2 separate regions of the Homo sapiens genome follow, and region 1 is linked to region 2. The links are contacts of gene promoters, found by promoter capture Hi-C in blood cells and fetal thymus (Javierre and others, 2016). All regions are on one chromosome and are shown on one strand. The core of a region is centred on a gene start or on the middle of the fragment in contact, and the rest is flanking DNA. Distances in the headings are between cores, read along the strand shown.

Region 1 (6,539 bases), core at 2,960-5,459, 200 kb before region 2:
TGTGAGGATTATGATTAATAGAAAGCATTTGCAATGGTGCCTGGCACATAGTAAGTGCTCAGTAAACGTTACCCTTTCTACTCATTCATTTAGCAAATGTTTATTGAGCATCTGCTATGTGCCAGACCCTGTTTTAAGGACTGGGATAGTGAATAAAACAGATTAAATTACCTGTCCTCATGGAGATTTCAAAGTAAAAAAATACGTAGCATGTTTGATGGGGAAAATAAGGAGAAACATAAAGTAAGGAAGGTGTTTAGATAGCATGACCAGCAAAAGTCTTGAGGAGGAGACATTTGGGTAATGGCCTGAAGTTGGAAGGGAGCAGGCCATCCAGGTACCTGTGGGAAGAATATTCCAGGCAAAGTACCTGCAAGTGCAGAGGTTCTGATGCAGAAAGCTTAAAAGGAGTCACTAAGAAAGAAAAACCATGGGTTGACTGTGTCTGGTGGCTCATACCTGTAATCCTAACATTTTGGGAGGGTGACGTGGGAAGACTGCTTGAGGCCAGGAGTTCAAGACCAGCCTGGGCAACATATCAAGACCCTGTCTCTAGAAAAAAATAAAATAATTAGCTGGGTATGGTGGCACACACCTGTAGCCTCAGCTACTCAAAAGGATCACCTGAGCCCAGGTAGTTGAGGCTGCAGGGAGCCGTGATGACCCCGTGCAGTGAGCCGTGATGGCACCACTGTAATCCAGCCTGGGTGACAGATCAAGAACCTTTCTCAAACAAAGCAAAACAAAAACCATGGGTTTATGTTGCAAAATATTACTTCATTACATTTTTATCTATAAAGGACATCATGTTTAAGCTTCATGATTTCATTGTCTAGGACATGTCAGCAAACTATTTCCTGAGGGCTAAATCCTGCCTGGTTTTGTAAGTAAAGTTTTACAGAAACACAGCCACGTTCATTCATTTACGTATTGTCTATAGCTGCTTTCACACCTCAGCAGCAGAGCTGGGTAGCTGAGATAGACCACATGATCTGCAAAGCCTAAAATAACTACTCTTTGGCTCTTTCTGCAAGAAAGAAAAATTGCCAGCTTCTAGTATACAGGTAATATTAGTTATTTAATCCCCTAATGTTCAACAAATCACATTAATATTCTTTTGGTTGCAAGGTTTAGAAATTTGTTTTAAACTAGTTTTTGTAAAATTGGGGAAATTGCTGGCTTATTGAAATGGAAGAGTCAGACATTCCTGGATCTAGAGACTGGACAATTGCTTTAAAGATCAACGTTCCCAGCTCTTGATCAGCCTCAGTGTGTGCATTGCTTTCATGTCACACACAAGTTTTCTTCACATCCCAGGGAAGACGGTCACTGAGAGTCCCTGGCTCCACCACTCTGCAAAGAAAGTTTCTCTGCAATGGTATCCGTCTGTCAGTTCTGCAGCAGTTCTGAGATTGGCCCTATTGGGATCAGGTGCCCACTCCTGGCCAGGGCCATTTCCCTGTGTTCAGGGAAATGAGATGCTGTGATTGGCCAGGGTTGGGTTCTGTGCTCACCACTGCACCCAGATGGAGGAAGGAGCTATTGGGATGAACAGTCCCACCATCTCATAATAAGATGGAAAGAGGTGGTTCTCCAAAGCAGGAAATGTTGAGCAGATTATAAAACAGCACGTGTAGTGTTTGCAGTTTTTCTCTATTAAAAATGAAGTTTCAGTGAACTGCTTTATATGTCTTTTTATGCAGATGCATTAGTAATTGTTATAGATAGGTACTGAAAGGCAGAACTGAGAGGCTATGGAAAATTGCTTTCCAAAAATGATTTACCAATTTACTTTCCAACCATGTATGAAAATGGTCATTTACTCACACCCTCACTAACCCTGGATATTATCAGCCTTTGAAAATGTTGCCAATCTAATAAGCAAAATAGAACCTTTGATTTTATTAGGACTGGGGCAAAGTACTTTTTTTTTTTCTTTTTGAAACGGAGTCTGGCTCTATTGCCCAGGCTGGAGTGCAGTGGCACGATCTCGGCTCACCACAACCTCCGCCTCCCGGGTTCAAGCGATTCTCCTGCCTCAGCCTCCCGAGTAGATGGGACAAGAGGACTGTGCCACCACACCCGGCTAATTTTTGTATTTTTAGTAGAGATGGGATTTCACTATGTTGGCCAGGCTGGTCTCGAACTCCTGACCTCGTGATCTGCCCACCTCAGCCTCCCAAAGTGCTGGGATTATGGGCGTGAGCCACCACCCCTGGCCGGCAAGGTATCTTTTTATGTCCACTGACTGTTGCAGGTCAGGTCCCGGCAAGCAGGCGGAGAGATGGAAATTAGGGTACAGGAAGTTATGAGGAAGTGCTCTCTTGATTAACACCCAAATTGGGAGGGAAGGAAGCAGGACTGGGCAGAGGAAGAAGTTGGGCTTCTATTTGGTCACAACTAAGGCCTCAGCTGTCCTCCTGGTGATCTTTGAAGCTAGAATGGTGCTTTCCAGTTGTCCAACTTAGAGCATGGTGATGATGCCAGCATAGCCCTGAGTCCCCAGTTATTGAATGAGGGCAGCCCTAGGACGCATGCCCTTGGGCAAGGTGAGTCCCTTCCACTGACGGCAACTCCCAGAGAGGATGGACACCCTCAGCAGCTGGGAGAATAAATCCTTCAGTACTGGAGCACAGCACAGCATGCGTTACATTGACTATATTTATTAATTTGTGAATTGCCTGTTTATAGTCTTTCTGTTTCCTTATTGATATGTAGTGGGGCTTTGTTCTGGATATTAATCCTTTGTATGTTATATATGTTGCAAAATATACTGCGTTGTATCTCAGTTTACTGCTGGCCTTTTTTGTTAAGGGGTCATTTATTTTAAAGATCTGTTACAATACGGTCAAAACTGTCCATCTCCCTTTTCCAAGATTATAAAAATATTGTTTTATTTGAATATTTCTATGCTTTTATCTTTTTTATGTGTAGCTCTTTAATTGCTCTGGAGTTAATTTTTGTTCCTGATATGAGGTAATATCACAGCACCATATATTTAATAGACTAGTCTCTAGAGACTGATGTAAAAGATCATACTTAAGATAATTTAAATTTTAATTTAGATGGAATATTTCTTGACTCTCCAATTCCAGCGATCTGATTTTGAGATGGAGTCTTGCTCTGTCGCTCAGGCTGGAGTGCAGTGTTGATCTCGGCTCACTGCAACCTCTGCCTCCTGGGTTCATGCGATTCTCCTGCCTCAGCCTCCAGAGTAGCTGGGATCACAGGCGTGTGCCACCACACCCAGCTAATTTTTTTTTGTATTTTTAGTAGAGATAGGGTTTCACTATGTTTGCCACACTGGTCTCAAACTCCTGACCTCAGGTGATCTGCCCACTTCGGCATCCCAGAGTGCTGGGATTACAGGCCTGAGCCACTGCGCCCAGCCTATTCTTTTTTTAATACCTCATGCAAAAATCAATGTATTTTTATATTTTGCTCTCTGGTTGGTCAAATTTCCCAAACAATTTTTTCAAATTTTTAAAATATACTTAGAAGCATGTTTCCGTTCTTATGAACATGAGAATGAACTTGTCTTATTGGGATTGCATTAGATTTACAGACTCAATTGAGATATTTCTACACTAAAACTTCTTATCTATGAACATCATACATTTGTCTATTTTTTTGAAGTTTTCTTTTATGACCTTCAGTAAAGCTTTATAGTTCTCTTCACATAGGTAATACACATTTATTGTTAAGTTTCAAGTATTTTGCTTCTCCCTCCCACTTTTGTCAATAGAATATGTCTTTTCTTTCAGTGAGGGAATATATTATGAATCTGCTGGGTTTCATTGCTAGCATTTTATTGTACCTATGTTCACCAGTGAGACTGGTTTATAGTGATATTCTTATCAATAACTCTTGCACAGTTTCGGTAACAGATAAGTTGGAAAACATTATATGTTTTTTCTCTTTGTGGAATTATTTAAATAACACATTAGTCATCTGTTCATTAAAGGTATAGCGTTTATTTCAGGGGTTTGGGGATGGTTATTTATTGGTTCAGTTTTCCATCTTCTTGAGTCAATTTTGATAAAATATTTTTCTAGAAAAGTAACCACTTTTTCATATTTTATTGATATAAATTTCTACATTGTATTCCCCTGTAAATTAATATCTTTTATACCTATTAATTGTGTTCTGTACTTGGGAATTTCTATTTAAATAGATCCCAGCTGTGAACAAAGATTGTTCTGTTCCTTCCTTCCTAATCATATGTCTTTTGTTTCCTTTTATTATTATTATTTTAATTGCACCAGCCACAACTTCCAGTATGATGTTGAATGGGAGTAATAAGAGGCGAACTCTTTGCTGTAAGTATAATGTTAGCTGTAGGTTTTTTGGTAAATGCTTTCTATGGGATTGAGGATGTTCCCCTCTATTCCTTGATTGTTGAGAGTTTTTGACATGAAAGGGTGTTGGACTTTGTCAAATGCTTTTGCTATATCAGTTGATACAATTGTACGGTTTTTTTCTTTAGCCTGGTGATGTGGTGGATTAGGTTAGCTGATTTTTGAATGCTGAACCATCCTCATATATCTGAAATAACTCACTTAGTCAGGGTGTATGATTCTTTTTATGCTTTGTTGAATTCAATTTTCTAACATATTTTTTGAGAATTTTGCAACCATATTAATGAGAGATGTTAGGCTATAAATTTTCTTTCTTGTGTTGTTTATGTGATTTTGATATTAGGATAGAGCTAGTCTCATAGAATGAGTTAAGAAGTATTCTCTCTTCTATTATCTGGGAAAGCTTGTAGAGAATTAGTATCATTTCTTCCTTAAATGCTGGGTGGAACTCACCAGTGAAACCATCTGAGTCTGTTGCTTTTTTTAATGCCAGGTTGTTAATTATTGATTAAATTCCTTTAATAGATATAGGCCTATTCAGATCATGTGAAGGTATTTATCTAATAAGTTTCCTTGTTCTGCAATCTGTTTTGTCTGAAATTAATATAGCTGCTCCAACATTTCTTTGCTTAATGTTAGCATGGAATATCCTTCTCCTTTGCTTTACTTTTAACCTATCCATGTCTTTCTGCCTTATCTGTGTTTCTCGAAGGCAGCATATAGTTGGGTATTTTTTTAAATTAACTCTGCAAATCTCTGTCTTTTTATTTATTTATTTTATTTTTTATTACTTATTTGTTAGTGTACAAAAACACAATTGATTTTTGTATGCTGATTTTTTTATCCTACAACTTTGCTGAATTTGCCTATTCCAACAAAATTTTGTGGAATCTTTAGCAGTTTCTATATATAAGATCATGTCATCTGCAAACAGAGATAATTATACTTCTTCCTTTCCAGTAGGGATGCTTTTTATACCTTTTTCTTGCCTAATTGCTCTGACTAGGATTTCCAATACTACGTTGAATAGAAGTACCCAGGTCTTGTTCCTGATCTTAGAAGAAAAGCTTTCAGCTTTTTATCATTGAATATGTTGTTAGCTATGGGCTTGATACATATTGCCTTTATGGTGTTGAGGTTCCTTCTTTCTACACCTAATTTGTTGAAAGATTTTTCTTTTTTATCATGAAATTATGTTGAATTTTGTCAAATGCTTTTTCTGCATCTATTGAGATGACAATATGATTTTTATTCTTCATTCTATTAATACGGTATATCACATTTCTTGATTTATGTATTTTGAACCATCCTTTCATCTCAGGGATAAATCCCACTTGATCATGGTGTATGCTCCTCTTAATGTGTTGTTGAATTTGGTTTGCTGGTATTTTGTTGAAGATTTTTGCATCTATGTTCATTTAGGAATATTGTTCTGTTTTTTTGTTTTTTGTTTTTGTCATGTATTTTTCTGGCTGTAATGTCAGGGTAATGCTGACCTCATGGAATGTGTTTGGAAGAATTACCTCCTCTTGAATTTTTTGGAAGAGTTTGAGAAGGATTGGCATTAATCCTGTAAATGCTTGGTAGAATTCACCAGTGAAGCTAATGGGTCCTGGGCTTTTACTGTTGGAAGGTTTTCAATCACTGATTCAATCTCCTTACTCATTACTGGTCTGTTCAGATTTTTTTTTTTTTTTTGAAATGGAGTGTCATTCTGTCACCCAGGCTAGATGCAGTGGCATGATCTCGGCTCACTGCAAGCTCCGCCTCCCGGGTTCACACCATTCTCCTGCCTCAGTCTCCCGAGTAGCTGGGACTACAGGTGCCCGCCACCACGTCAGGCTAATTTTTTGTATTTTTAGTAGAGACGGGGTTTCATCGTGTTAGCTAGGATGGTCTCAATCTCCTGACCTTGTGATCTGCCCGCCTCGGCCTCCGAAAGTGCTGGCATTACATGCATGAGCCACCGCACCCGGCCTGTTCAGATTTTCTATTTCTTCATGATTGGTAAGTTGTATGTGTCTAGGAATTTATCCACTTTTTGTAGGTGATCCAATTTATTGCTGTATAACAGTTTATGGTTCTTCTTTATGATACTTTGTATTTTTGTGATATTAGATGGAATGTCTCCTCTTTCATTTATAATTTTTTTATTTGAGTCTTCTCTCTTTTTCTTTTTTA
Region 2 (6,965 bases), core at 3,202-5,701:
CCAGGATATACAGGGAACTCTTACAACTCAAGAACACAAACAACCCAATTAAAAGTAGGAGAAATATTTGAACAGGCATTTCACAAAAGAAGGTACAGAAATGGCTAATGATCACATAGAATGGGATTATCATCACTATACAGGGAACTCTTACAACTCAAGAACACAAACAACCCAATTAAAAGTAGGAAAAATATTTTAACAGGCATTTCACAAAAGAAGGTACAGAAATGGCTAGTGATCACATAGAATGGGATCATCATCACTAGTCATGAAGGAAATGCAAATTAAACCCAGAGGGAGATACCATTATACTCCCACTAAAATGGCTAAAATTAAAAGGACTGACAACATCAAGTGCTGTAGAACACATGAAGCAATGGCATCTCTCATTTTTGCTGGTGGGAATGCAAATACAGTATAGTTCCTTTGGAAAGCAATTTGGCAGGTTGTTATAACATTATACATACACATGACATAAGACCCAGAAATTCCACTCCTGGGTATTTTCCCAAGAAGAGAGAAACACGTTCACACAACACCCTGTATATTTAACCATATTTATTTATAACAGTCCCAAACTGGAAAGTACCAGAATGTCCATCAATCAGTAAATGGATGTTGTACATCTATGCAGTGCAATACCACTCAGCCATAAAGTGAGATAAGCTATGGATAAATGCAACACCATGGACAAATCTCCTAAACTATGCTAAATTAAAGAAGCCAGACACAAAATACAGCATATTGCATGGTTCTGTTTATAAGACATTCTAGAAAAGCCAAAATGATAGGGAGAGAAAGCAGAGCAGTTGTTCCCAGGGAAGTGAGTTAGAGGGAGAGATTTGACTTCAAAGGGGCATGAGGGAAATTTGGGATGATGGAGATGGTCTCTGAAACTTCCCTGGGGTGATGGTTACACAACTGCAAACCCTTGTCCAAACCCATCCAACTGTATATGTTAAAATAAACATGATCTCCCGCCCAAATTTGACATACTCAGCAAAGACTAAGTCTATAAAACAAGAATTAAAGCAGTAGTTTTAATTATTTCATAAAAACACATCACAAGGGAACATCACACACTGGGGCCTGTCATGGGGTGGGGGGAGGGGAGAGGGATAGCATTAGGAGATATACGTAATGTAAATGACGAGTTAATGGGTGCAGCACACCAACATGGCACATGTATACAAATGTAACAAACCTGCACATTGTGCAGAACTTAAAGTATAATAAAATAAAATAAAATAAATCACAACTTGTTATAACACTATAATTTCAGGATGGGCTGGTATGATATATTGGTGCAGAACATGGATATAAAAGTCAAGCTGACCTTAGTTCAAGTCCTGTCTTTACCATTTACTAGTAGAGTGACCTTCTGCTAATCACCCTGTACTTCATTCAGACCTCACAGGATTACGGTGTGGATTTAATTGTGCACTTTAACCACTTCATAATTGCCAGTCTCATAGTGAGTATTAAAAAAGCTTTAGTTACTTGAAGAACATTTAGAAACAGCCTAGGTGGGGAGACATACATGTCAACAAATACATTACAGTATCATGTGAAAATAACAAATAGAGCAAGTGTAAGGTACAGCTATAGCAACGAATGAGAAATGCTTCCCTCTGTCTGAAGAAGCTAATAAAGACTTTTTGGAGGAAATGATGACTAAGTTAAAATTTGAAAGATGAATAAGTGGTTTTCAGGCTGATTAGGGGAGTGAAGGGCTCAAAATGTCATGGTGTACTTGGAGAATGCTGAGCAGTTTGCTATATTTTTGAACAATGACAGAAGCTATTGTAGTAGGAAGCAGTCAGTCAGAACAAGAAAGATCTTGAGTGTCAATTTAAGAATCTTGTTGCATTTCATCATTTGTGTGTTAGAGCTATTGGAGCCAGCAAGGACACAGACAAATTAAATTTGCATCTTAGAATGATTACTTTGATTGTCTTGGAGAAGATGAATTGAAGCTAGGATGAGTCTAGAGGATGGAAGACCTGCCAGAAGGCTTGTTAGATGAATTCAGGTAAAGGACAGTGACTTTCTGTACTTGGGCTATGGGAATTGGAAGGTGAGAATAAATTCAAGAAACTTTTAGGGGAATCCAATAATTAACTGCATGAAAAGGAGAATAAGTCTAGGATGCCTGTCAGACTTGGTGGTCTGTTTGGGTAGAACACCTGTTGGTACCCCTAGATAAATGGAAAAACATGTCTATACTGGGAAAATGATGAGTTTAGGTGGGTAGTGTTGATGACTGAAGTGCCTGTGGGTATCCAGGTGGAACTGTGTAGCAAGTAGGATATATGGGTCTAGAGTTCAGTACCGGAGTCTGATGAGGAGCTACATATGTGCAATAGTTGAAGTCACAAATATAAATAAGATCACCTAGAAAAGCATATAGTGTGAAAAGAGAACAAGGGACAGATCCCTGGGAAATTTCAACATTTAAGATTCTGTAAAAAAACCACAATAGGGCATATATCCCTATAAAATCCCAGCTACTCAGGAGGCTGAGTCAGGAGGATTCCTTGAGGCCAGGAATTCAAGACAAGCCTGGGCAACATAGATAGACCCTGTTGTATAGAAAAGATCTTAAATGATGGTCATAAAAGAAAGTAGGAGGAAGATCAAGAGCAAGTAGTACCAAGGAAACCAAGAAAAGAGTTTCAAGAATGAGGTGTCATTGAGTATTATATACAGCAGCAATGTCAAGCAAGATGAGGGCTAAGAAGCATCCAATGGATATGGATAGTTTTAGTGCTGGGATGAAAACAGGTCACTATAGTCTGAAGAGTGAATAGGAAGTTAAAAATATGTAAGTATCTAATGCTGGCTACTTTTTTTGAAAAGTCATGACCAAGAAGAGAAAGAAAACAATAGGATAATAGTTAGAAGGAACAACAACATCAAAGGGATTTTATTTGTTTTTGCTTTTTAGATGAGGCATGGGAGGGGCTTCAACATAATTATATACCAACAGGAAAAAACGTGGAAGACAGGGAGAGGCTGAAAATACAGGTGTATATTATTCAAGGTCCAATCATATAACACTTGATGACGCTTATATTCTTGAAACTCCCTCCTTAGTTTCCTTGATGCTACTTGGTCTTAATCCTTTTCCTACTTTCATGACCATTACTTAAGATCTTTTCTATACAGAAGTCACACCGGATATTTGACCATGGAAAACTGAATACAAATAATTGTTATAAAGCTGTTTATCAGGCAATTTAAATGGTGAGAAGAGAACATAAGATATATAAAAGTAGCAATTATAAGAAGCATCTATCATTCTTAGGACTGGGAGACCAACAGGGGCCGGTAGGAGACGGAATTTGCAAAGTCTAAGAGGAGAGGGAGAGACTTTTTGCTAAAGGCAATCAAAAAATATTTTATGAAGATGGCATTTGAGCTGGGCTTAATTAAGTGGAAATGAGAGAATATTTCAGGTATTGCACATGACCTGGGAAATAGAAGCTACTTTATAAATATTTGTTGAAAAATGAAGTGATGAACAGATAAGCAAGAAAATCTAGAGAAAAGTGTGGAAAATTTCGGGAACAGTAAGTTTGGCTGGAGCTTGGATGGTGGAGATCGGTTGAAAATGTGGTTGCACAGATGGAGTAGAGATGGAGCAGACGGTCTTAAATTCCAGGCCAATGTGTTGAAAATTTATCTTAGGAAGCCGCTGACATTTGAGTAGGGAAGTGACAAGACTGGAACGATGATTTCTGGATGGCCGATTTGCCTGTGATACGTAGAAAGAACTGTAAGCAGAGAGCAACTGAATTTCTCAGCCAGAAGGCCAAAAAATGACGAGCTGGATTGAAGTGACAATAAGGATATGAGAAAGGGAACAAGCAGGAAACAAAATGTAAGCCGCCAAGAAGTGGCTGAAGTGATGACTGTGGTTGGGGGGCATGGGAGGAAGAAGGGAAATTGAAGCTCCTTCTGAGTCTAGGCAATTGGAAGAATGGCAGGAAGAGGAAAGAAAGAGGAAGAGAACGGGGCTTTGAAGGGCCATGAGAAGTTCTGTGGAAACGGATTGGACATCCTAGTGCAAAGAGATGTGGCAGTGCAGGTCTGCAGCTTAACGGAGCCTGGGCAGGAGGTGGCTGATGTGGGTTTCATCTGCATAGAGATTCCGGCTGACGCCTCTATTTGGAAGAATGCAATAGTATTTGCGTATTTGAACCCACAGCCAGTCCTTGGGCCAGAAACTGAGGCTGAACTGCCTCTTGATTTACAGCTTCCACCCCCAGTTTCCATTCTCCCCTAAAGCACTGGATTCAGGTAATCGCGGACGCACTTGGCTCCTCCCGCACTGGCCGCTGCCCTCGGCGGGACAATGGGCGCCCTAGCAGCCCCGAGCGTTCCCAGGGCGCAGGCGCGGCGCGGCGTGGCGTCGCCTAGCAACGAGGCACAACAAGGGACTGGGGGTTCGTCTGCTGGGTTTGCGGAGCAGCTAGCTACTCGGCGGGATCTCCCGGCAGGTAAAGGTAACCCCGTGGGGTGGGGAGGCCCAAGGCAGAGGCCTGAGGAAAACCTGGGAAAGGAGAAGGTGCCACGTGGGCGCAGACTGCTTGGGTCAGTGAGGCAACACCTTGCTGGGCGTTGTTAGTTTCTGCCTCGCGCCCGCAGGGTTAGACGGGGCTTGGGGTGGGTTTCGTAAGCATCCCGCCACCTCCCATTCAACAGGTGACAAAACTGAGGCCCGAGAGGGGATCTGAGGTGAGATCAAGTCAGATTCCGTTACTTGACTGTGAGCAACTCAGAAGTGGCCTCGATTTCTTGAGCCCTCCTCCTCTTTAAATCTTCTCAAAGCAGAACTCATTAGAAAATATTTAAAATCATAGGCTGAACGTTCACGAAGAACAAATACAAAGGACCAATCAACTCGTGAAAAAAAAAATGGCTCCAGTAGTCAAGAAGATGCATTTTTAGAGCAGAGTTGTTTGCATATCCAATGCCCTGAAGTTTTCACCCAGTTAATTTACTGCTAGAGATTTATCCTAAAGAAATAGTTGGGGATAATGGATGAAAATTTTATGTCCAAGGACGTTCTTTCAGCCCTGTCCATATTTCCAGAAAATTAGAAACAAATTTCAACAATCAGAGACTGGCTAGATAGCTAAGGGATTTTAAAATATTTGTAATGGCATGTTATGCTAATCCACTGGAGATTATTAAAGCAATGAAGGGAAACTGAGACTTCATGAATTTATTTGTTAATATAAGAATTTAGTAGGAATATGAACCCAGGAAGGGAAGGTGAAAGTAGGGGATAGAAGTTGAGGCAGGATGTTAAAATCACTTTAGAAAAACACACAAAGCCAGGTACGGTGGCTCACGCCTACAACCCCAGCACTTTGGGAGGCTGAGGCGGGTGGATCGCCTGAAGTCAGGAGTTCGAGACCAACCTGGTCAATGTGGGGAAACCTGTCTCTACTGAAAATACAAAAATTAGCCGAGCGTGGTGGCGGGTACCTGTAATCCCAGCTACTCAGGAGGCTGAGGCAGGAGAATCTCTTAAACCTGGGAGGTGGAGGTTGCAATGAGCCAAGATCAGGCCACTCTCCAGCCTGGGCAACAGAGTGAGACTCTGTCTCAAAAAAGAAAAAGAAAAAGAAAAAAAGAGAAGAGAGAGAGAGAGGGAGAGAGAGAGAGAGAAAGAGAGAGAGAAAGAGAAAGAAAAAGAAAAAGAAAGGAAAGGAAAGGAAAGGAAAGGAAAAGAAAAGAAATAGTATTGATCTCTCTGAGCTTATCTTTGGGTGATTTTTATTTTATTCGTTGTGCCCTTGTTTTCCAAATTCTCCACAGTGAAATGTATTACCCTTGTAAGGATCATCTCCATAGCTCATTGCCACCGACCTATGTCAGCTGTTCAGTCTCTCCTCCATTAACTATCATACCCAATATGGTGATAAAACACATAGGCTTTTTTTGGGGGAGGAGACAGAGTCTCGCTCTGTCACCCAGGCTGGAGTGCAATGGGGTGATCTCAGCTTATTGCAACCTCCGCCTCCCGGCCTCAAGCAATTCTCCTGCCTCAGCCTCCCCAGTAGCTGGGAATGCAGGCACATGCCACCGCCACTCCAGGCTAATTTTTGTATTTTTAGTAGAGACAGAGTTTTGCCATGTTGTCCAGGCTGGTCTTGAGCTCCTGACCTCAGGTGATCCACCCGCCTCAGCCTCCCAAAGTGCTGGGATTACAGGAGTGAGCCACCACGCCGGGCCATGATAAAACACATAGGCTTTTAACTTCATTCTTTAGCTTAGGAGACACTCTATCATTGCAATACTGTCTGTGTAAGCTCTTCTAACCTCTGCACTATGCAATTGCTCAAAAACACTATCCTGAAGTAGGAAAAATTAGTTCCTAAGTGAAAATCAGATGATTTAAAACAACTTTATGCAGGTGTAATTAAATTGCTTCCTGAATATTATTCATAAGCAATTATTTTATAAATCAAAGGCTGCTCTGTCTTGGAATTGGTTATAGAGTGCTATAAACTCTCTCTTTTTTTTTTCCTAGAGATTAATTGTAGGATAGATTCTCATTTGCCCAGAATAGTTTCTGCCTCTCTGCCTGAAATATTATAGGCACAAGGTCTAGGGCCTGTTCACTTTTCAAGCACCTAAGGAAGATGTTTGAGATTTGAAAAAAATGCTTATATTGGCTCTAAAATATGAAAAGAGAACTGAAAAATTAGTGTTAATTAAATGTTTTATTAATATAAATTTTTATTACATTTGAAAACAATTTTCTCATTTTACAAGAATTTCCAGGTGTATGTACTGATTGCTGAGTAATTTCAAATACAAATTTCAAAAGTTTTTATGATGCAAATGACATTTAATGGGCGATGCAGGCACATTTTAACATTTTAATATATTGGCTATTGTGTGAATAAGCTTGCCCAGGCCCTCCAAAGTCTTAAAAGTAGTGTGGT

The links. Contacts are between HindIII fragments. The CHiCAGO score rates a contact against its expected background, and 5 or more counts as called.
Region 1: a fragment that was not itself captured here is called in contact with the fragment with the promoter of ARMC3 in region 2 in 1 of 17 cell types (megakaryocytes); the score reaches 5.0 in megakaryocytes.

What each region holds. Positions count from the first base shown.
Region 1 is chr10:22,726,373-22,732,911 of GRCh38, forward strand. No RefSeq gene overlaps it. Among named protein-coding and RNA genes, the nearest start is that of PIP4K2A, 15 kb to the left of the region's middle. The HindIII fragment of the contact is 1,100 bases long and covers 3,660-4,759 here.
Region 2 is chr10:22,923,602-22,930,566 of GRCh38, forward strand. It overlaps ARMC3 (armadillo repeat containing 3), which reads left to right and starts at 4,452. Exons shown (of 19, transcript NM_173081.5): 1 at 4,452-4,505. The HindIII fragment of the contact is 5,434 bases long and covers 1,492-6,925 here.